Regions from separate parts of the Homo sapiens genome. Here all the other regions are linked to region 3. Evidence: promoter capture Hi-C in 16 types of primary human blood cells and fetal thymus (Javierre and others, 2016). All regions are on one chromosome and are shown on one strand. Each heading gives the region's core, a stretch centred on a gene start or on the middle of the fragment in contact. The rest is flanking DNA. Distances are from core to core; before and after follow the strand shown.

Evidence for each region. Contacts are between HindIII fragments. The CHiCAGO score rates a contact against its expected background, and 5 or more counts as called.
Region 1: the fragment with the promoter of NCKAP5L here is called in contact with the fragment with the promoter of DHH in region 3 in 4 of 17 cell types (neutrophils, total B cells, monocytes and 1 more); the score reaches 6.6 in neutrophils.
Region 2: a contact is called between the fragment with the promoter of FMNL3 here and the fragment with the promoter of DHH in region 3, in 8 of 17 cell types (total CD4 T cells, non-activated CD4 T cells, naive CD8 T cells and 5 more). The highest score is 7.6, in total CD4 T cells.

Annotation. Positions count from the first base shown.
Region 1 is chr12:49,825,466-49,829,885 of GRCh38, forward strand. NCKAP5L (NCK associated protein 5 like) reads right to left here and starts at 2,948. Exons shown (of 13, transcript NM_001037806.4): 1 at 2,857-2,948. BCDIN3D-AS1 (BCDIN3D antisense RNA 1) reads left to right here and starts at 3,078. Exons shown (of 3, transcript NR_027501.1): 1 at 3,078-3,279; 2 at 3,470-3,618. RefSeq lists enhancers at 1-346, 347-1,213, 2,357-2,406, 2,822-3,400, 3,401-3,979 and a silencer at 2,667-3,076. The HindIII fragment of the contact is 6,034 bases long and covers 1,480-4,420 here.
Region 2 is chr12:49,705,104-49,709,871 of GRCh38, forward strand. It overlaps FMNL3 (formin like 3), which reads right to left and starts at 2,302. Exons shown (of 26, transcript NM_175736.5): 1 at 1,952-2,302. The coding sequence starts at 2,077. LOC124902929 (a long non-coding RNA gene) reads left to right here and starts at 2,623. Exons shown (of 3, transcript XR_007063299.1): 1 at 2,623-2,736. It also overlaps the pseudogene COX5BP5. RefSeq lists a silencer at 1,946-2,715 and an enhancer at 2,736-2,885. The HindIII fragment of the contact is 3,771 bases long and covers 1-2,934 here.
Region 3 is chr12:49,091,718-49,096,166 of GRCh38, forward strand. DHH (desert hedgehog signaling molecule) reads right to left here and starts at 3,084. Exons shown (of 3, transcript NM_021044.4): 1 at 2,493-3,084. The coding sequence starts at 2,795. DHH-AS1 (DHH antisense RNA 1) reads left to right here and starts at 377. Exons shown (of 4, transcript XR_007063295.1): 1 at 377-625; 2 at 1,113-1,188; 3 at 2,405-2,471; 4 at 3,684-4,027. RefSeq lists a silencer at 1-98, an enhancer at 957-1,101 and a cis regulatory region at 1,021-1,038. The HindIII fragment of the contact is 10,631 bases long and covers 1-3,308 here.

The sequences.
Region 1 (4,420 bases), core at 1,698-4,197, 730 kb after region 3:
GTCAGGCAAGGGCCCTTTCTCTTCCTCCTTCTAACGGGGCCTCTGGCTGGCCAGCCTCAGAGCCACACCCCAAGAGGGAACAGCAGCTTCTGCCTAGTAACAGCTGCATCCTTCAGTCTGACAGTGACTCCAGCATTAGCCACTTTCTGGGAAACTGACCTCCCTGGGAGCTTCCATTATCCATTCCAACGGCTCACAGCGGTAAGGAAGGCTTCCTTGGGATTTAACCTAAACACCTCCTGCTGCAGCTTCACCTTCATAGGCAGCAGGGCCCAGGGCAGAGGGCTTCCCAGGCCCAGGAGAGCCAGCAGAGGGAAAAGTAACCCAGGGAGAATGTGCCCCTACATGAGCAAACCCAGGGCTTCCTTAACCACCACCTCTCCTTCAACATTCCCCTTCACCTGGGAGACCGAGGATGAAAACAAACAAGAAGAACTTCAAGACCTCTGGCTCTTGGGCTGGAAAGCAAGTCCCAACCTGGAGAGCCCAACTCCTGAGAAGTCCTACCCTGGGGAGGGAAGGGGCTGGGAAAGGTGGGGTGGGGGCAGCTTCTCCTCACTGCTGCCACTGGCTGGTATAGCAGGGCCTGGGAGGCTGGCTGGGCTGGATGAGGGCGGTGGGGAAGAATCCTTAGCCCCTTGCCTGGGACCTGGGGGTGTGAGTACAGCAGTGAGGTGGGCAGGGCTGGGGGTGGGATGGGCAAAAGCAGTGGGGCCCTCCTTGCCCTCCTCCTATAAGAGGGCGGGTGGGTGAGTATGTTGTGCTCCCTGGCCCAGATCCTAAAACAAGTCCCAACAGCTGAGACGTAAACTGTCTCCTGGGAATCTGCTTACCCTGCTGGCCCTTGGCTGCCTCCTCCTCTCTCAGCTCCTCTTCAAAGGGCCAGGATGTCTCACCACAGGCGTGATGGGTGGGCCAAACCCAAGCCAGCAGGAGCAGGAGTTCATATCCCAAGGCACCAGGGGTGTGTGGGACAAGGTCTACTCTCAGGCTTAGAATAAGGGAATCTGTTCTCTCTACCCAGGGTTCTAATCCTAACTAATTGCAATTTAAAGCACACCCAACACTTTAGCTCCCTCTAAATGGAACCATTCTGCCAGAGGACCTTTCTCCCCTATAGATTCACCCATCAGTGGAACCATTCAATGTCAAAAAGTGGAAGGGAATATTAGAGCTATCTAGTCCAACTACTGACATTTAAAGATGGGGAAACTGAGCCCCAGAGAGCAAACTGTCTTGGCCAAGGTCATACAGCAAGCTAGGAAAAGTAGGGACCAGAGCTTCTGACTCTGTCTTTATTGATACCCGCTTGCTCCCCAAACACTTAGGTCTTCACCGGCCTATCATGAAGATCCTTCTTCCCTGCCAACCACAGCACCTGCCCCTCCAGGTCCTCACTCTCTTCGTGAGGGCCAGAGCTGGAGAAAGATGCTGGAGGGACAAAGCCACCTCATGCACAGACCATAGACTTTGAAAACAAGCTTGAACATGGGAATATCTCCCCGGAAAGGAATACACACGGTTTCTTTGGGATAGGAAACCCACTAATCCCAGGTTGTTTTTAGGAAGATGGGGGGACCAATTTGAGAAGTGAATTTTCCTATCACACAAGGAGTCTCAGAGAGCCAGATGGCGTAATGTCTGCAAGGGAGGGTCTGCAACAAGGCAAATGGGCTATGTTCATTTTCCCCGAAAGTACTGACCACAAAACGGTAAGGCATTGACACTCTTTCTACTGCTCCCCAGGCCACCCCTGCCCGGGCCACTTCCTCTGGCTGACCATTGTGCTTAAGAAGGAGGACCCATGACAGACGCGGAGAAGTGGGAGGGAGGGATTGCCTCTACAGCCAGAGAACTCCTTAGCCCAAGACCCCCAGCTCCTCAGCAAGGCAGGCCTTTAAGAAGTAGCAGCTGGACAGACTAAGTGGACTCAGCTGATCCAGCCCTGGGATGCCTGGAAAACCAGGCCTGTGGGAGGTGAGGGCCCTCTGTGCCCTTGGGGCCGTGCCAGGACTGGAGATAACGCGGGACCTTGGGCCCAGGACAGGGAGAGGGGAGCTAGGATCCGGGCAGCCGCTTTCTTAGTTGGGCTAAGCCAGGGAAGCGTCGGGCACAGATGAATTCTCTGCATTCTTCTGGCACCGCAGCCAGCACCCAGAGGGCCTTTTCTGCAGACGCTGCCCTGTCCCTGCTCCCTGCCCAACCAACCCTTCTCCCTCCCTTAGCTTCTCTTCAGCGTGCAGCCCACCAGGTCCTTCCTCCTTCCCGCAGCCCCTCAAAGCCTTTGAAGGGGCTGTTCTCTAGGAGACCCGGTCTTTCCGCCTCTCCCCGCCTTCCCCAGGCCCTACCGCCCCAGGCCACGGGGAATGGGAAGGAGTGCGAAAGGGAGCCCCAGGCTCGTCTCCGCGCCTGCGCTTTGGGGAGAGAGCCCCTCCCCCCGCAATAACCCGGCACCGCTAAGCGGCACCCGGACGGTGGGATGCGGGTTGGGTGGGGTGAGCAGCTGGGGCAAGGTCAGTGCTTTCAAAGAGGGAGGGGAGCCCGGCCCCCGGAACATCCCCCACTCCCGAAAGTTTCCCTTCCGGGGCCACGGAGTGTGCGCGAGGATGGCGCGGGGGGCGGGAGGGGGTGGGGTGGGGGTGCACAGAGTCGCAGCCGGACCCCCGAGGAGGGTGCGGCTGGAGGGAGGGACGGAGGGGCGGGCAGCAGGGTTTGGGCAGGAAGCCGCGACGCCCTCTCCGACTCTGTACTGCCACGAGAGCCTTACCCTCCACACCCCACTCCCCCCGGCCCGGAGCTACAGATCGCCCCCCCGCACTCGCCGCCCTTTCAATCCCAAGTAGACCCAGAACTCACCGAAATCAGGTGTTGAGCTGGGCCAGGGCAGGCCGGATCCGCCAGGTCCATGGCCGCGGCTTGGGGGCGGGGGGCAGAGAAAGGGGGGTGCCGGAGCCGCCTCCTGATGTCAAGGCTTTAAAGGGGCCGGGGAGCCCCGCCCCTGGCCCTGACCCCGCCTCCCTCCTCCCTAGCAGCCAATCCACGTTCAGCCTGGATGCGCGCCCCTCCCAGCCCCCTCCAGATGTTCCCAGGACGCGAGCTAAGTCTGCCCGGCCGGCGCGCGCCGCTTCCGCTTTGGTGGGAAGGACCTCCCTTCCCCCTTATAGAAACACTTTCTCCAGGCCGGGCCGGGCTTGGTAAACCTCAGCCGTGCCTGGGTAGAGGACGCCGGGCTGGGCCGAGCGGGGGTGGAATGAGGGCGTCTAGAACAGAGAAAACTAAGTAGGTGCGCGCGGGCCCACAGGCATGCGCGTTTGCTTCTGTGGGGCTGGGCGTGCACGTGTATGTGTGGTTGTGAGCGTCGGTGTTTGTAATTTGCTTTTCTGCATACGTGTTGGGTGTAAATCCATGGGGGAAAGGCTTGAGTGCCTCTTTGGCCTTAAATGCTCCCGCCTCTCTCTTCCTTCTCCAGGATGGGGTCGTCCCCCCAGTAATCTGGAAAACAGTTACAGCAACAGGCTCCTCTCATCAGACGGCAGTGCTGGTCGTTTCCTCACTGGTTTGCGGGGAAGGCTGGGCAGAAAAAGGATGCAACCTTGTTCTCAACCACTTGCTATCTCGGTGAGGATGAGGAAAAGCAAACAGCCCATCCAGGCCCCTGCAGAGCCTCAGAGCTTCAATATCATTCCCATTAGTCCTTAATTAAACACCTATTTGCCCTTGCCTAAATACCGTATAACCCTCACAGCCTGCATTGTAGTGACTGCCCCAGAAATGTAGGTTCTCACCTGGGTTCTGCAGGGAAATACGAAGGAATCCCTAGGTACAGTCTCCGCCTACTTCATTAAAATTTCTTTTGTTGCGAGTATACAAAGGATGCAGCTTAGAGTATCATATTAGTCCAATAAAGGAACATAAAAAGTAAGGCAAGTTAGGGTGCTCAGATTGGCTAGGATTAAGAGTTCTTTTCTGAAGGAGGTTTATTTAAATACGGAATTTGAAGGGCAGAGAGAGCTTGAGTAGGGTCCAGGCAGGGTAAAGGCCACAAGGAGATTCAGATAGGAAAGAGCAAATTATCTGCGTGGGACCGTGAGCAGATCACCGTGGTACGTTGGGAAGTGGGAGAAATTAATGGAGGAGGTTTCTTATGGAGGAGAGCAGAATAAGGATATGGATGTGACAAGACATAAGATAAAGAAGTCATTTTGGGTTCTTGAGCATAGAGGTAGTTTGATGAAAAGAGTGCCCAAGGACAGCTATTACTGGAACCTAAAAGATGTCTTGATGGGTACCCCCACCAGCTTTCTCATTTTTTTGCTTAAAAAATATTTTATTCTTTTCTTTTCTCTGAGATGGAGTCTCACTCTGTCCCAGGTTGGACGGAGTGCAGTGGCACAATCTCTGCTCACTGCAACCTCCACCT
Region 2 (4,768 bases), core at 1,052-3,551, 610 kb after region 3:
GGAAAACTGAGGTGAAATCCCGTCTCCTGAGACAACTAACTAGCTCTGGCCTGCCCTGTTCCAACCCTTCATCAGCAGCAGCTCAGGCACACAGAAACAAGACCAAAACAAAAGGCATGAGGAAACAAATCAAAATTTTATACAGAAAGGAAGGCATGCAAGTGGGTGGTCCAGTCCCCCATTTGACCTGGGTTCTCCTGGTGCTCTGGTGTCCTGGTTAACTAGGACATCACGTGCATTTTGTGAATATTAAGCCATTAGTTTGCTAACTAAACGAAATGGTCAACCAAGGGCCAATGAGAACATGATGGATTCTGGTTCTGAGCTCTCACAAAAAATGGCCTGGCAGCTCCCACCTAAGGCAGCCTCCCACCCAATCCACCTCACCCCATCCCTTTCTCCCCAGTTTCTATAGCTAACTTGTGTCAGCTTGCTGGGGATTTTCACACCCCCACCAGAGTGCAGATCCCCTCCCACTCTTTTCCCCAACAGTTGGGCTCTTGTTCTCAAGGCCACTAAGTCCCAGTCTCTCCTCCTCAGCCTGTGAGATGGTCACAGCACATTGGTAATCACTGACTCACCCGATCCCCCGAGGAGGCTGGGGGAAATGCAGAGGGCCACAGGATGTATGGCCCACATCCCTTTGGCCCTTCGCAGAGCTGGCGGGCAGAGAGGTGCCAGCGACACCACTTCCCCTTGGAACACTGTGGACCCTCTTTGAGCCAGCTCTGGTGCCAGTGGGCTGATGTCAGATTCTCTACCATCGGAGAGGCCAAGATCTCTAGACAGCTCCACTGTTGCCAACAGATCTAATCTCCTTATTCCAAGGCAGATGAAATCCAATAAGGCTGCTAAGTCCACAACTTATCCCTCCTGATGGGCAGAGGCAAAGGCAGAGTCGGCCATACCAACAATAACGCCAGAATTATTACTGCTTCTTAGAAAACTCTTTGGGGAAGTGAGAACTATTTCCCCAAATTTCTCAAAGATTAACCCCGGTTTACCAATGTTTTCGCTCTGCAAAACTTCATTTTCAGCGCAAACATATTTTCTGGCTCCTTCCCGGTGATACCAGCTCAGAACCTCTCGCTTCATAGAGCCACTGACATCAATGTCCAATTCCCACACCAAAGAAGAATCCCAAAGTCAGCTCTAAAAACCCATTTATACAGACCGTTTGAAACCCACAGAAAGACTAAAAAGCACAGGCTAAACAACACAAACCAGTCACTATGGCTTAACGTGAAAAGGGGGGGAGGAGGCGGGATGGTTTGTGTATTGTTTCACTTGGAGAAATACCCCAGTGAAATGGTTTATCCACATGTTCAGCCTTTCAGGCAAATCCACTCTAACTTAGCAGGATGCCTGCAGGCCGTTCTGAAAATAAGCAGAATGGCATACTCTTTATTCCACCCCCTTCAGGAGCTGCCAGCCGCCTCCCCATCCCCCTCTCCCCCCAAACATCTGGTCTGGGCTGGGAGTGGGACCCACTCCCTGGGAAGCCTCCATGTTCGCAGGAGAGGCGGTGTCCCCACTCAGGGAAGCCTGCTGAGGAGCGAGCCGGCCGCGCTTCTGAATTCCCCCCACCCGCGAGAGGCTCCGGGCTGAGAATGCTAGGGACGGGGAGCCTGGCGAAGAAGCGGGGAAACGGGAAAAGGGCAGCAGAAGGGGGAGGAAGAAGGAGGGAGAAGCCTGGTTCCTAGGACGGTCCCGAACTGGGGACTTCTCCTAAGGGTCCAGCGGTGGAGGCGTCGGTCCCGAGATCCCCGACGGGGCTGTCCGGGCCGGCCAGCGGCTGCTCAGAGGTTCCTGGGAAGACACTGGAGGCCGGGATCCGTTCGGGACCCCGACTGAAAGGGTGGGCGGGACGGGGGCCCAGCACAAAGTCCCAGCCCGGGCGTCGGGACCTGAGGGGCGGTACGCGGGGGAAGGGGCTGGGCTCAGCTCTCACCAGCACCAGGGCGAACCTTTCCTCCAGCTCACAGGGCTCAGGCATCGGCATCTTGCCGGGCGGCAGCAACAACGGGACAGAGGGGGGCTCTCCCGGGACCCCCTCGGCGCTCTCCAGGTTGCCCATCGCGGCGGGGCCCCCTCAGGGGCCTCGGCCCCCCACCTCCACGCTCCGGAGCTTTCGGCTCCGCGGCTCCGACCAGGCTCCTCCCTCAGCGCCGGCTCCCCGAGTCCCGACTCCTCGGCCCCGTCGAGGGCGCCGGGGGTTCCCTGGAGTCCCGCTGGCGGGGGCGCGCGGCGAGGGCGGAGGCAGCGTAGCGGACAGCCGCACCGAAGCAAGGCGGACGGAGGCGGCCGGCTCTTGCTCACACCCGCCGCCTCGCCGCGCTCGGCGCGCCGCCCGGGCGCTGCCCCTCCCCGCCCCCCGCGCTCTTTCCCTTCCCCCGCCAACCTCGCTTCCTCCCACCCACACCCGGCCGAGACTCGGGCTTCCCCCGCGAGCGCCGACTGCAGCCCGCGCGACGCGCGCCCCATTCATGCAGGCCCCGCCTCCCGCCCAGAGGCCTCACAGGCGGCCCGGCCCGCCCCACCTGCGCCCGATTGACGGCCGCGTCTGCCAATCACAGCGCCTCCCGCCCTTGACGGCCTCGTGCCGGGCGCCGAGCGCTCCCTGGCGGCCTCAGCCGGCATCGAATCACCGCGGTTCCCAGAGGGCGTGAGGGGCTGGCGTGGACACACCGGGAATGGACCGTACCCTTTTTCAAAAGGAACTCATGATGTATACAAGTAAGTAAAATATTATACAAGGCATGGCGTACAAAACTAACTACAAGAGAAGTAGAAACAAGCAGGATACTCAGAAGAGGGAGAGAGATAGTACCTGTTAAGAGTCGGGGTGAGGGAGATCATAGTTGGACCAGGCATTGAGGGATGAGGAAGCCCTTACCCGACAGAGGCAGGGGAAAAAACGTTTGGGAGGAGAGAAGCTTAACCATCTGGCTGCGTGTGAAAATGGAGAGGCGGGAGAAGAACGCTGTTCTGGGCTCAGTCGGCGGCTGGGTCGTTGACATTTGCGGTGGAAATTTGTTGTCTAGCCGCCATCTTCTTCCAGTGAGAGCACCCCCTTTTCTTTTAGGAAACCACCTCTCCCCTCTTCTCAGTCTAAATGGAGCTGAATTTTATCCCCAGTTCCAAAGGACCGCATGACCCAGGCCCAGTCAGTCACAACATTTTCCTCCTCTACCCATGGACACTGTTTTAGGGATTGTCACTTGACCCAAGCCCAGACAATATGATATATCCAAGGCTTTCTCTGAAACAATCAGGAAAGAGGCACTCACTCTCTCTCCATTTAGGCTGCAAAATTATTAGAATGTAAACCTGCAGCCGCTGGTGGCCGTCTTATCATCACCTGTAACACATCAAGCCTGCTTGAGAATGAAGCCAGCGCAGAGGAGAGAAAAGCTATGAGACAGGACAAAATTCTAATGACATGCCAAGAACCTGGATCTAACCATGCCTGAAGTTATCACCTAGATTTTTAATTCATTTATTCAACAAATATTTATTTTAGAAAGTTTATTCTATGCCAGATACTATTCTGGGCATTGAAGGTACATCTGCGAACAAACAGGATATACATTGTGTCCTCTTGGAATTCACAATCTGTGTAGAAGGAAAGGTAGACAATAAACTAGACGAGTAAAATGTATAGATGTTAGTGATCAGTGTTAATAAAAATAAAACTGAAAGGTGATAGAGATGGAAGAGGCATTAAGATTTTAAATAGAGTTGCTTACTTGGGAGGCTGAGGCAGGAGGATCAATTGAAACTAGGAGGTTGAGGCTGTAGTGAGCCATGTTCATGGCACTCCACTCTAGCCTGGGTGACAGGGTGAGGCTCTGTCTCAATAAATAAATAAACACAGCTGTTGCTTGTCACAGGCATGATGGCTTCAAGGTTAATTTTCAGAGCTGGAGCGCTAGCCGCATAGGCCTGAGGGCTTACAGTCCCAATGGGGTGGTTGCAGTGTGCTTCATGGCATCTGGAGGTGGCGTTCCTACTGATGACAAGCAGATGACTGGGCTGGAGAGGGAGTTCATGACAGCCATGTATGAGATTGGACCCATACAATATATTACCCCCAAAGGCAGCTTCAGGCACCAGGGAAGACCCTAACAGCTCCCTCCATCACCAAGATAATAGTGAGCTGCATCGGTGAAGAGGACAACAGTGCTGTCAACTGGTTCTGGCTGCACAAAGGCGAGACCCAGTGATGCTCTAACTATGAACCCATTACAAGCTGATGTCCCACAAGTTGGCCCAGTGAGCCCTGGCACTAATTGCTCAAAATGTGCTGTAAAGTATCTTCTCTCCAATAAAGACTAGTCATTGCATTGGCTCCTTCTTCCCCTCCCTCATAATAAATATTTTAAATAGGATGATCAAGGAAGGACTCACTAATAAGATAGCATTTGGATAAAGATCTGAAGGATGCAAGGAAATAAGCTATGTGGCTATCTAGGGAAGAATTATCCAGACAAAGGGAATGGCAAGTGCATACTATCTCTGATGTATTAGAAGAACAGCAAAGATGCCAGTGTAGCTGGAGTGCAATGAGCAAGGAAAAGGGTAGTGAAAGATGAAGTCAGAAAGGTAACCAGAAGCCATATATTGTGTAGGATATTGTAGGCTATTGTGTGAGGACTTCGGTTTTCTCTAAGTAGGATAGGTAGCCATTGGAGGATTTTGAGTAGAGGAGTGGTATGATCTAACATGTTTTGTAACAGGGATCACTCTGGCTCTTGCATTGAAAACA
Region 3 (4,449 bases), core at 1,834-4,333:
TGGAAGCGTGGTCAGGGAGGGCCTGGTTGCTCCCGGAGAGCCCCTGTTTGAGCCTGGCCCCCGCCCCAGGCACCGGCTCCCCTCCCTCCGCCTGATTCATCTTTTGTTTCATTGCCTTCCCTGGCACCGGGCATCGCTTCCTTCCTTCCTTCCTCCTCCTCCTTTGGGCCCTTAGCATTAACCCCTTCGTGCTCTGGGTGCCCCCCAGAGAGGTGCCCAAGAGGAGCTGTGCGGGATCAAGGCTGCTGGAAAAAGGATTGGGGTGGCGGGGGTTGCGCGAAGTACAATGGCCATTATCCGGGATGACTTAACCGAGCGAGAATCCTGAGCCCAGGCCGGGAACGCGCTGGGAGAAGCGGACTCAGCAGCTCCGGCCACAAAGGCGCTTTTCAGCCGCCCCGGCTCAGGGAGAGGAAAGGGCAGAAAGCCGCGCCCCCAATCCCTGCTCCGTCCGGGTAGGTCCCCTCCCCCCGCGCGTCCAGTCTTCCCAGTTCCAGCTAAGGCTCTGCCAGTCCGGAGAGCCCCTATCTCTCCCATCTCTGCTCTAGATGCAGCCCAGAAGGGCGTGGGAGTAGCACCTGAGAATAACGGTCTCCTTGTGCGGATCTGGGGAGCCCCCTGCAGGGTGAGAGCGGAGAAGAGGAAAAGAAGCTGCGGCTGGAAGCCTGCACCTGGGGGAGTGAGACCACAGTTATCTTGGCCGCTCCAGCCTGGGAGCGGGAGACCTTGGCGCGCACCATAGCAGGGACACCGCGGGAGGAGGCGCAGAGGGACAGCTTCCTTTTTTTCTTTCCCCTCCGACCTCTCACCTCGGACTTGGTTTTCTCCTAACAGAAAGACACTTTTCCCCTCTCCTCTAGTCTCCTCCACCCCGCAGAGTTGGGGTTGGGTGGGGGGAAAACAGGAAAAGTGGTAGCTCCTTCCAACTTTGTCGTTTCGTCCCCTAAGGAGGCCCCGAGGCCCTGACCTGCGGGGGCAGCAGCCCAGTGCAGAGCCAACTCAATGGAGGCCTTTTGCAGCCAGGGTGTGGGAGATAAGTAAGACTGAGGGGGCTCCCAGGCCTGCCGGAGCCCCTCCTGAGCCTGTCCCTTGTTCTGCCCACTCTGCTGCAGGTGGCAACCAGAGGAAAGGGCCACAATGTTCCACGGCCAAGGAGGAAAGAAGGAATGCCCCTTTTCCCATCTCTAGGTAGGAGGAAGGCTTCAGGGCAGAAGCAAAAGGAATTATTTCTTCCCTGGACAGGTTTTCCTAACAAAGTAACCTGGAAAACTATGGCAATTAATCAGAGGAAATCCGTACCCCTCCCTCTCCCCCCACCTCCCCACTCCATACACAATTAGGTGGTGTAATGGAAAGTATATAGGGCTTAGAATCAGGAGTCCTGAATTCTAGTCCCAGCCATGCCACTTTAAATTGTGAGAGTTTAAATTGCTTTTCCTCCTGGGGGAAGTCCAGCTCTCAGATGTAAAATGAGGGTGGCAGTGGGGGTGGGGAGGGTTGGAGGAATGTCATCTCTCAAGTTTTCTTTCAGTTCTAACATTCAAGATCACTGGCCAGGCTGGATGAAGTGGCTCACACCTGTAATCCAGCACTTTGGGAGGCCGAGGTGGGAGGATCCCTTGAGCTCAGGAGTTCAAGACTAGCCTAGGCAACATGGCAAGACCCCGTCTCTACAAAAAATAAAAAATAAATCACTCGCCAGAGGTGGTCCTTCTCTTCCACCTCACTCTAGGTGGTTCCAATGCTCAAAAATGGTAGTTGAATTTATCCTAATTATGTAATTCCAAGGAAAGCCCCTGAGATAGGCAGAGCTTGGAAGACTTAGGAGCCCTCTGATTCTCAGGTGGGTCCATCTGTTATTCTCACTGAGGATTACTTTTTAACCCCAAGATTATCGTTTAGACCCTAGGATAGCCCTAGAATAGACCCTAGAATAGATGTGTCCTGGTTCTAGGACACGTTTCCCATGCCAAAAGCAATGTCTGCCCAGCCCCTCCTCAGGTAGATGGTCTGGTGACCTGACCCTTGGCCACCCCTGTCCCAGCCCTTTTCAGTCTCTTCTTTTCGGCCCACAGAGCTTTTCTACAATCAGGTCAGGAGCCAGGCTTCTGTCTGCTACCTAGCCAGCTCCTGGCCCCCAGCTCACCCCAGCCCTTCCTGCCTGGCTGGGTGGCTGACCCCCGGTCCACGCCTCAGCCATTTCCCGTCTCGCCTGCCGCCATCCTCCTTTCCCCGCCCTCGCTGCCTCTACCAGCTTCACTCTCACTAGTCAGTCCCTCCTCCCCTCCCCATCCCAGACTATTCTAGTCGGGAGCCGTCCTAATTACTCTGTCCAGACTGCAAGGATTTTTCCCCCCCCTGGGGCTGGTGACAAGGGAAATCTCTAAGGCTAAACTCTCTGTAGGTGAAGCTGGACTCACCCACCTGGGCTGCCATAGGAAAACGGAGGAGCTGGCAGTGCCCCGGCGCAGGTAGGGAGAGGCCCTCCTTACCTCGGTCATCAGGCGGTCGGCTCCACTGTTCTCCTCATCCTTGAAGATGATGTCGGGGTTGTAGTTGGGCACGAGGTCCCGGAAGCGCTCGGAGCCCCTTGCCACCCTCCCCTCCGCTGGCCCACTGGCGCCCAGGGTCCGCTCTGGCACGCCGGGCACAAATTGCTTGTAGAGTAGCGGCACGAGCTGCTTGCGCGCATAGCGGCGCCGGCCAACCGGCCCCCGGCCCGGCCCGCAGCTCTGGGCTGGCAGCGCCAGAAGTGCCAAGCAGCACAGGGGCAGTAGATTGGTCAGGAGAGCCATGGATACAGCGGACCTCGGCCAAAAGGGAGCGTTCTTGTCCTCACTAACTCTCCTGTCAGTTAGGCATCTCCACAGGCACCAGAGAGGGCAGCAGGCACAGCTGCCCCCAGAGTGCCCTAGAGCTCTTGTGGCTCCGTGCACCTGGCTGCTGCTAGCTCTGCCCACGTGCCCCGGGAGCGGGCGGGGGGTGTCTAGGACCTGCTACTGACAAACCATCATAGCAGGGAAGGGGGGTCGTGGGTGAGTGCCAGCCCAGCCCGTCTCTGCTGCAGGACTCTGGTGCTGCCAGAACGCCCGGACTCCGGACTCCGCCTTAAGTGGCCCCTGGCCCCGCCCTCCGCCCTTCTCCCAAGACCGTCCCACCCCCTCCCACCCGGGCGGGGGATCTAGCCGGTCACTGCTGGTCCATTTTGCGACTGAAGTGTGTCCCATCCTGGAAACCAGGCAGACACCTGCCTAGGAAATACTTGTAGCTTTACAGTCCTTGGCTGCCTAAACATCCTTCTACCTCCAAGCTTAAACTTGGAACCAAACCACCCTCCTCTGATACTTGAATTGGAATTTTTACTCTCTCAAAGCCTACCCTGGCAGGCCATGCCCTCCGCTGTCATCCAGGAAGTATGGGTTCCAATTTCTGCCCAAGACCAGCCAAGCCCTTTGGGCATACAACCAGAGCCTCCCTTCTCTGTAGTCCTCCCCAGATCTCCCCGACTTCCATCTCTCCTCACATTCAGCATTAAGCAGGACTGGGAGGTGAGGATACCAGGGGCCCATTTCTCTACTAACTTTGCAGTCTCCTTTGGAACTTCCCCAGAACCAGGAACAGAGCTTGGTACTTATTGTCTCATTTAGGACTTCCAACTTTTTTCCCCTTCTCTTCTTTGCCAGGCATCTAATAGCTGCTGTTTTTCAAATGAATGACTTCTCAGTTGGAAGCTGCTGAAGGGCAGTGGACACTCAAAAGTCTTTGTAAGAGGTGAGGATCACTTCCCTTAACCGTCCATCTAGGCACCTCTCCAGCTTTCTCCCTCTCTGGACTCCCGGGGCTCCATTTTCAGCCACTCAGATCTCATCTCAGAGGCACCACGTCCAATTTCTTTTGTTTAGAAGTCATTTCTTCTAAGAAGCCTTCCTTGATGTCCCAACACTGCCCACCTGTGTTCCCTCGAGAACCATTACTTAACTGCAGTGTTAGAACAGTATTAGAATTATCTGGCACCTTACTAGACAAAGCAATCTTAAGCACACACATATTTATCATGTATCTCCAAGGTTAAGTGCCTACTCTACAGAAGGGTGCTTTGCAAGCATTTGTGGAATCTACACTTTGTGTTTCATATTCACCCTCCCCTCACCACACTCTATGGCTAGTACTCATAGCAACTTTGTGTACATCAGAAAAAACCAGGCCAGGCACAGTGGCTCACTCCTGTAATCCCAACACTTTGGGGGCGAGGCAAGGACTGCTTGAGGCCATGAGTTGAAGACCAACTTGGTCAACATAGTGACACCCCGTTTCAAAAAAAAAAAATTAATTAGTGGGAGGTAGTGGTACATGCCTGTAGTCTTAGGTACTCAGGAGGCTGAGGAAGGAGGATCACTTGGGTGCAAGAGTTCAAGGCTGTAGAGTGAGCTAAGATCATGCCACTGCACT